Regions from separate parts of the Homo sapiens genome. Here region 2 is linked to region 1. The links are contacts of gene promoters, found by promoter capture Hi-C in blood cells and fetal thymus (Javierre and others, 2016). All regions are on one chromosome and are shown on one strand. Each heading gives the region's core, a stretch centred on a gene start or on the middle of the fragment in contact. The rest is flanking DNA. Distances are from core to core; before and after follow the strand shown. Region 1 holds the start of MARK2 (microtubule affinity regulating kinase 2). Region 2 holds the start of FERMT3 (FERM domain containing kindlin 3).

The links. The method cuts DNA at HindIII sites, captures the fragments that hold promoters and counts their contacts. A CHiCAGO score of 5 or more calls a contact.
Region 2: a contact is called between the fragment with the promoter of FERMT3 here and a fragment that was not itself captured in region 1, in 3 of 17 cell types (erythroblasts, total CD8 T cells and fetal thymus). The highest score is 6.0, in erythroblasts.

The regions. Positions count from the first base shown.
Region 1 is chr11:63,836,615-63,840,581 of GRCh38, forward strand. MARK2 (microtubule affinity regulating kinase 2) reads left to right here and starts at 2,496. Exons shown (of 19, transcript NM_001039469.3): 1 at 2,496-2,946. The coding sequence starts at 2,893. RefSeq lists enhancers at 1,182-2,170, 2,431-2,580 and a silencer at 2,591-2,830. The HindIII fragment of the contact is 532 bases long and covers 2,326-2,857 here.
Region 2 is chr11:64,204,631-64,208,253 of GRCh38, forward strand. FERMT3 (FERM domain containing kindlin 3) reads left to right here and starts at 2,091. Exons shown (of 15, transcript NM_031471.6): 1 at 2,091-2,184; 2 at 2,721-2,894. The coding sequence starts at 2,735. RefSeq lists enhancers at 700-1,262, 1,100-1,359, 1,263-1,825, 2,260-2,339, 2,660-2,739. The HindIII fragment of the contact is 2,303 bases long and covers 962-3,264 here.

The DNA of each region.
Region 1 (3,967 bases), core at 1,342-3,841:
TGGCTCACGCCTGTAATCCCAGCACTTTGGGAGGCCGAGGCAGGTGGATCACTTGAGGTTGGGAGTTCTAGACCAAACTGGCCAACATGGTGAAACCCTGTCTTTACTAAAAACACAAAAAATTAGCCGGGTGTGGTGGTGGGCACCTATAATCCCAGCTATTCAGGAGGCTGAGGCATGAGAATCACTTGAACCTGGGAGGTGGAGGTTGCAGTGAGCTGAGATCGCACCACTGCACTCCAGCCTGGGAGATAGAGCGAGATTCAGTCTTAAAAAAAAAAATTTCAAGATGGTGACAGCAGAGCATTAATCCAAGCTCAGGGTCCACCTGAGCACAGGGCTCTGTGTGACTGCATGGGGTCGTGGGCCCAAGAAGCCAGCCCTGCCTATAACCAGTGAGGGAGCTGGTGATAGCTTTCTAGCAGAGCAGAGATGTTATTGGAGCTGGACTTTGGGAAGATTATTCTGACATGTCTGGTGCAGTAGGTTGGAGGGAGTCTAGGCGGGGAGACAAGCTCAGCAGCCTTGTGCAAAGCTAGCAAGGAAGAGAAAGGATAGGTAGGGTAGGGGTTGGGGATGAAGGTCAAAGGGCAGGGGTGAGGCAGGGGTTAGAGCTAGAGTGAGAAGCTTGGAGAAGATGGAGTCTATTTAGACGAGAGTGTGGACCAGGGAGAGACTGCTGGAACACCAACCACCAACTGCTTCCTCTCTCTTTTCCCTGCTTTCCAGACCCTGGCATTAGAGGTGATACCAGGCACAGGAATCAGCAACGTGTCTCCCTTTGGCCACCAGAGGGCAGATGATTCTCAAGGATCGAATTTGGGTTGGGGAGTGAGGTGTTCTCTGTCCTCCTCTTCTCTCTTTCCCTCACCTTCATGGGTGTGCCTTCACCTTCTTCCTCAACGGTTGGGTGCCTGAATAGAGCTGGTATGGGGCATGGGGAGCAGTGCTGAAGTCCCAGGATTTACTAAGAGTGTAGTGATACCTGTTGCCTTAGGAAGTACTTTCATACCCTGGTAATTACATCTGCTCAGATGCCTATTTCTCTGATTGATGGGATGAAGGCTGGCTCAAGATGCTGTAGCTGGGAGTTGGAGGTCAAGTAGCAGGGGTCCAATCAGCAGTTTTCCCAATAACTCCTGGAGCCTCTCTGCTCCTGTACCTTTGGGAACCTGTTGCCTGAGTCTGGTTTCTGACTCCTGCGGGGCCTCTGCCTCCTGCCCACCTTAAGCCACTGATGGGAGGGTGTGGTTCCAACGTGTTCCAGGTACTATGGGTGAGGACAGCTTGGCGCTGGGGAAATCAGCCCAGGATACTCCCTGTCCTTGGTAACGCAGTGTAAGGGGAAGTGAGGAATGGACTGCAGTTGCCATACAGACTTCCTGTTAGTCAAGGGCTCTCCAAAGCTGAGAAGGACCTCCGAGTTCATGAATCCAATGGCTTCACTTTACTGATGGGGAAAATGAGGCCCAGAGGAGGAAAGAAAAGAAACTTTAAATGCCTTATCTTGCAGAGGCATTTTAAAAGGTAACTGGAATTCAGAAATGTCATTTTGAATGTCAACGCAGGAGCAAAGGCAAAGGAAAGAGGAGCCTAAACTCAGTGATGTTATGTGATTTTTCCAAGATCACGCAGCATTGGCACTTGGCAGAGCTGGGGCTGAAATGCAGGGCCCTGGACGCTCCCGCATCCGGTGCAGAGGACGCTGCCCTGGGCCTGCCTGGGGCCTTGCCGAGCCCTGCGGACTAGATGCGGGAATGCACGGATGAATCCACAGAAGCCAAGATAGACGGTGGCAGACAGGCAATAGACTGATGCTGCATTTGACAGGTATATTGATAGGCTAGATGATAAAAAGAAGATGAATTTTATGAGCTGACCGACAGATGGACAGAAATGCAGACAGGAAGCTGCTATAGAACCAGAGGATGCCAATCACAGGGACGGCTAACAATCTTGTTTTGTATTTAGTCAAATCACAAGCACAGACAGGTGACCCACGCTTCCTGTTCAAGGTTTGAAAATGCCCGAAAACTGACGGAAAGACACGAAGCGAATCAGACTCCGAGAGCCACCCGGGGAAACGACCGGGTGCTCGGAGGGCCTCGGGTGTTGCCGGAAATGGCCGACGACCGCCCTCGGCAGGGCTGTGGGAGGGGGCGTGGCCGGCTCAGCACGCGGAGCAGCTTCGGGTATTTCCGGAAACTGCCGAAAGCCCCCTTGAAGTGGGCGGGGAAAGGCCGGTGGGCGTGGCTGGATGGCCGTGGACGGGGGCGGGGGGTAGGCACCCGGGGTCGCTTCGTGGATTTCCGTAAACAGAGCCGAAGCTTCGTCTTCGGAATCGAGGAGGAGAGCGCGTCCCCGGGGTTTACCTTCTTCGGCTGTTTCCGGAATTCACCCGTAGTCTGTGGCCGGGAGGAGAAGGCGCGCCCCACCTCCCGTTTCTAGCCGCTTCGGATGTTTCCGGCTGCTGCCGGCGAAAAGAGCCGAGGGCCGGCGGTGGTGGCGGCCATGTTGGGAGCAGCAGGTCCGGCGGCGGCTGCCTGTGTGCCGGGCGCGGAGCAGTGCCGCTGAGGGCAGGGGAGGAGCGAGGCAGGCGGCCGGCTGCGGCGGCAGAGAGTAGGCGGAGCGGCGCGGCCCGGCCGAAAGGCGGCACAGCCCAGCCGGGGGTCGGGGGGGTGCGGTCCGGAGCCGCTCGGAGCCGGCGCGGCCTAGCCCGAGCGGCGCATCCCCGGGCTGGCGTGAGCGGCTGCCCGGCCTCCCCGCACCCCCGGCCGGGGCCCATGCGGCGGGTGCTCCTGCTGTGAGAAGCCCCGCCCGGCCGGGCTCCGCGCCTTCCCTTCCCTCCCTTCCTCCAAGCTTCTCGGTTCCCTCCCCCGAGATACCGGCGCCATGTCCAGCGCTCGGACCCCCCTACCCACGCTGAACGAGAGGGACACGGAGCAGGTAAGGAGCCCCGAGGGCTCCCCGAATTCTCTGGCTGGGCCCTTTGCACCTTGCGGAGCCTCCTCCCTCTTCTGCTCTCCTCGTGCCCCTGCTGCCATCCTGCAAGCCTCGGCTGCCCTGTCATCCGGCTCCTGGCTCCGGCTCCGCACATCCCGCTTCCGAGTCCTGACCTGGGACCCACCTCGTCCTGACTCCAAGCTGCACACTTGTCTTTCTGCCAACCCCCGTCTCCCCTCACCGCCCTCCTGCGCTCTTCCGTGTCACCTCCCCAGCTTCCCTTTCTCTTCCCTTTTTCTCTCAGGGGCCTTTCTGGTCTTCCTCCACCCACGCTTAAAGCAGCCACCCTCCCGCTCCTCGAATAGCAGCACCCCGCGATTTGCCACAGATCGTTGTCCACCTCTCCCTTCGTCTCTCCTGCCTCGCTTCCCCTCCGCCCGCACCGGTTCTGCCAGTCTCTGGGTTATCACCCTCAGGGTCCTTGCCCTGGACTGCGCTCTCGATCCCTGGCCCCTTGCAGTTCCCCCAGCTTTTTCTACCCTGCTTCTTCGTTTTCCAAATTGTGCTCTCCCTCTTGCTTGCAACCCACCAGCTCCACCCTCATCACCTTTCCAAATCCTTCGCCTACTCTTTGCTCATCACTTTCCCTTCTTTGCTCCAGGAGCTCCCTGGATCCTGGCGCTGGCATTTGTCGCTTCCGTGTTTCCCCACAGCTGTCATGCGCATAGTTTTCCCACAGGTTGCGTTTGGGGTTCCAATCATCACTCCCTTCAGAGTCTTTGGATCCCTCTTGTTCTCTTCCCCTCGGGTTTGGCTTTTAGGTCCCTGGGCCTCTTGTTTCTCTCTGTGAGTGTTCTACCAGCCTTCTACTGGGCTCTTTCTCCCAACCCAAAGACACTTGGCCCCACCGTATTAACACAACCTGTTGCTCAGTCCTTTCCCAGACCTCGCTGCATCACAGTTTTTGCCTTTCTGTCTTCGTACGCTGGAACACAAACCATGATGACTTTCTGTGTCTTCACTC
Region 2 (3,623 bases), core at 841-3,340, 370 kb after region 1:
TTCTCTTTGGGGCGGGCTTAGGAGGAGTCCCAAGCTGTGGCTTGGCACAGCTCCATGGCTTTGCCAAGAAGGTTGCCAGATGGCGCTGTTGCTCAGCAGCTGGAAGGGAATCTGAAGGCTTCCCCACCCCAAGTAGTACCAATGAGAGGTTCAGATAAGCTTTGGGTGCTGTTAATTCTCCACGTTATAGTGGAGATCCAGAGAACAGGATTCTAATGTGAGATGCTGAGACCTCTGTGGGGAGAGGGCAGCTATGCTGTTAGCTGCTGTTAGATTTAGGAGTTGGGTCATGGATTGTTTTTGTTTTGTTATTTGAGATGGAGTCTCAGGCTGGAGTGCAGTGGTGTGATCTCGGCTCACTGCAACCTCCACCTCCTGGGTTCAAACGCTTCTCCTACCTCAGCCTCCCCAGTAGCTGGGATTACAGGAGCCTGCTACCACACCCAGCTAATTATTATATTTTAGTGGAGACAGGTGTTTCGCCATATTGGCCAGGCTAGTCTCGAACTCCTGACCTCAAGTGATCCACCCGCCTCAACCTCCCAAAGTGCTGGGATTACAGGCATGAGCCACTGCACCCCACTGGGTGATGGGTTTTTTTTGTTTGTATTTTTTGAGATGGTGTCTCTCTCTGTCGCCCAGGCTGGAGTGCAGTGGCGTGATCCAGCTCACTGCAAGCTCTGCCTCCCGGGTTCACGCCATTCTCCTGCCTCAGTCTCCCGAGTAGCTGGGACTACAGGCGCCCGCCACCACGCCCGGCTAATTTTTTGTTTGTTTGTTTGTTTGTATTTTTAGTAGAGACGGGGTTTCACCGTGTTAGCCAGGATGGTCTCAATCTCCTGACCTCGTGATCCACCCGCCTGGACTTCCCAAAGTGCTGGGGTTAACAGGCGTGAGCCACCGCGCCCGGCCTGGGTGATGGTTTTAATGCACGGCTCTTACCTGAGAACTTAGGGTGCTAAGCTTTAATTACACTTTTCCATGGTTGCAACAAGCTGCGTTTTCTAAAGCTCTCTTCCTGGACTGGGGAGGCCTTTGGGGCAGGAGTAAAACTTCCTCATTTGCTCCAAGAGTGCTGCTTTCTGGGCTAGGAAGGCGCTGAGACTAGCAGCTGGCTGGACTTCCTGCTGTTAGTTTCATCAGCTTTCTTTTCCCCTGGGAATCCCCGGCAGGCCGCCCCCTTCCCCATCTGAGTGGCGATGCTCAGGTAGCCTCCCCCATTGGCAGGACTCTGCCGCCCCCAGGCTTGCCCACCCTGCATGCTCCAACCCCAGTGTGTTCACTGGAAAGGCCGCTGTCCTGCGCAGAGCTGGTGGCGGACGTGCCTTGCTCTACTGAAGTCCACATCCTAGGGCAGGTGATGAGCAGGAGGGTATAGACCACCAGAGACCCCTGAGGTGTCACCTAAGCAGGGACTTGATGGGAGTGAGCCTCGTGGGGACTCGGGGAGGCTCATCCAAGTGGAGCACAGTGGAGGGGTCGTGTTTGGAGCTGGGTGACCTGAGGGCCCGGGAGGTTGTGGATGGTCTGGGCCAAGTACTGTTCACTTGTTCACCTGGCAGGTCTGAGTTCATGAGTTTGAAGGTAGCCCTACGCGGAGCTAGGAAAAACTGCAAAATGGACTTGTTTCCCTCTGGGGCCTTGAGGGATCCTTGGTTGATAGGGATAGCCAGGCTGGAGCCGATTTAACCTGTGAGTCCCAAATAACCTGGATACACTCTGTCGACTCCTGGGCTCTCCCTCCGGCAGCCCAGTGATGTTTCAAAGCCCAAGGTCCCCACCTCATGTGACAGGCTGAGGATGGCAGACACTTCCCACAAAAGTGGACCTAGCCCTGAACACACACAGCCGGGGGACTTGTTGAGTTTGCACTGAGCTTCCCTCCAAATGAGGAAGGGGGCGTTTTTATGGTGTTGAGTCGCTAAGCCCCGCTCTCCCTAGCTTCCTGTGCTCTCTGGGGACAAAGGTGGGGGGGCCCCTGGAACCCTCTGTGGGCTGGCAGTGTGCTTCCTGCACCCAGCGCCAGCCCGCCCTGGGGAGGGGCTGAACCCGCCCTGCTCGTGATAAGGCACAAGCAAGGGCTGCCCTGAAGGAAGCTCCAAAGAGAAAGGAGGGCAGGAAGCCCACGGCCCACAGGGGTGTAGCCCGAGACCCACCTGCAGCCCCCAGCCCTTGCCAGGAAAGGTAAGCTCAGGCCTCACTGGGACCCTGGGCCCTTCTCTTCCTTATCCTCCTGCAGCCTCTGCCCAGCCTGCCTCTCGCCATGCGGCAGCCTGAACTTTCCACCTCCCCGGAGAGGCTTTGGCTGGTTTGTGATGTTGGCATCTGAGCTGTGGGCCAGGATCGGAACTACTTCCTGGCCTGGGTACGAAGCCATGGCCAGAGTGGGCAGCTGCCCCTGAGGGTCTGGGAGTGAGCTGTGGGCTGGCATTGAGCACGGTGGTCCTGAGTGAGCCCCTTCTTACCCGGCCTCAGTCTGCCCGCCTGTAGGATGGGAGCGGATTGGACTACATGGTCTCTGAGGGCCCTCGCGGCTCAAGCGCCAGCGCTGGAGAGAGAGTCTGAGGGTACCACGGGCGTGCTGGCCTGGGTGCTCACTCCCGCCCTCCTTCATGAGCGGCTTTCCTCTGGGTGTGTCCAGGGCATCACAGAGCTCTTCTGCCCAAACCCGGAGGCCTACCAGGGCCTGCCCACCTTGCCTCCTTCCACACTCTCTGTAGCAGCAGCCGCAGCCATGGCGGGGATGAAGACAGCCTCCGGGGACTACATCGACTCGTCATGGGAGCTGCGGGTGTTTGTGGGAGAGGAGGACCCAGAGGCCGAGTCGGTCACCCTGCGGGTCACTGGGGAGTCGCACATCGGCGGGGTGCTCCTGAAGATTGTGGAGCAGATCAGTGAGTGTCCGCTGCCCGCTTGCTGAACTCGGCACCATGGGCGGCCGCCACGGGTGTCTCTGGGCACTTCCGGGCCATCCCTGCTGCTCAGCTCCCGATAATGGTGTCACGGTGACTCAGGCATTAGCTTAATCATTTGGTTCCAAAAAAGACATTTCCCCAACTTCCTCTCCCTCCCACCCTCTTCCCTCCCTCCCTTCTGCTGCAGCTGGTCTGCTAAGGATCAGACGCAGCCACAATCCTCCATTCAGCCACCAATAGGGGCAGAAGGAGTGGTCTTGTCTGGGCCGAGGCTGAAGTCACATTGCTGAGGTCTGAGGGGGTCTAGGTGACCCAGGGGCCTGCCCCCACGCTCCCTCCCCTTGGCGGAAGCTTTGAGCAGGTTGGTGACAGGCCCAGCCTGGGTGGGAAGGCCCTGCCCCCACAGGAAGTTACAGCAGAGCAGCTGTGGTATCAGTCATGGAGGACCACGGGGCTAGTGACACGGGGGCTCCTCATCTTCCTTCCCTGCCGGGGGTGGGGGCTACCCCTTCCTGAGAGAGCAGCAGGAAGACCCCGATAGGCAGAGCCGGAAGACAGGCCCACCACAGTCCCGGCCAAGAGCCTGGGCCTGGGCTGCCAGTGGGTGGGGGGTGGGTGATGGTGGGGAGGCTTCCTCAGACCCCGCCAGGCCACCATGTGCAGCACAGGAGGAGGTCAGTCCGACTGTGGAGAGGATAGGGTCCAGAA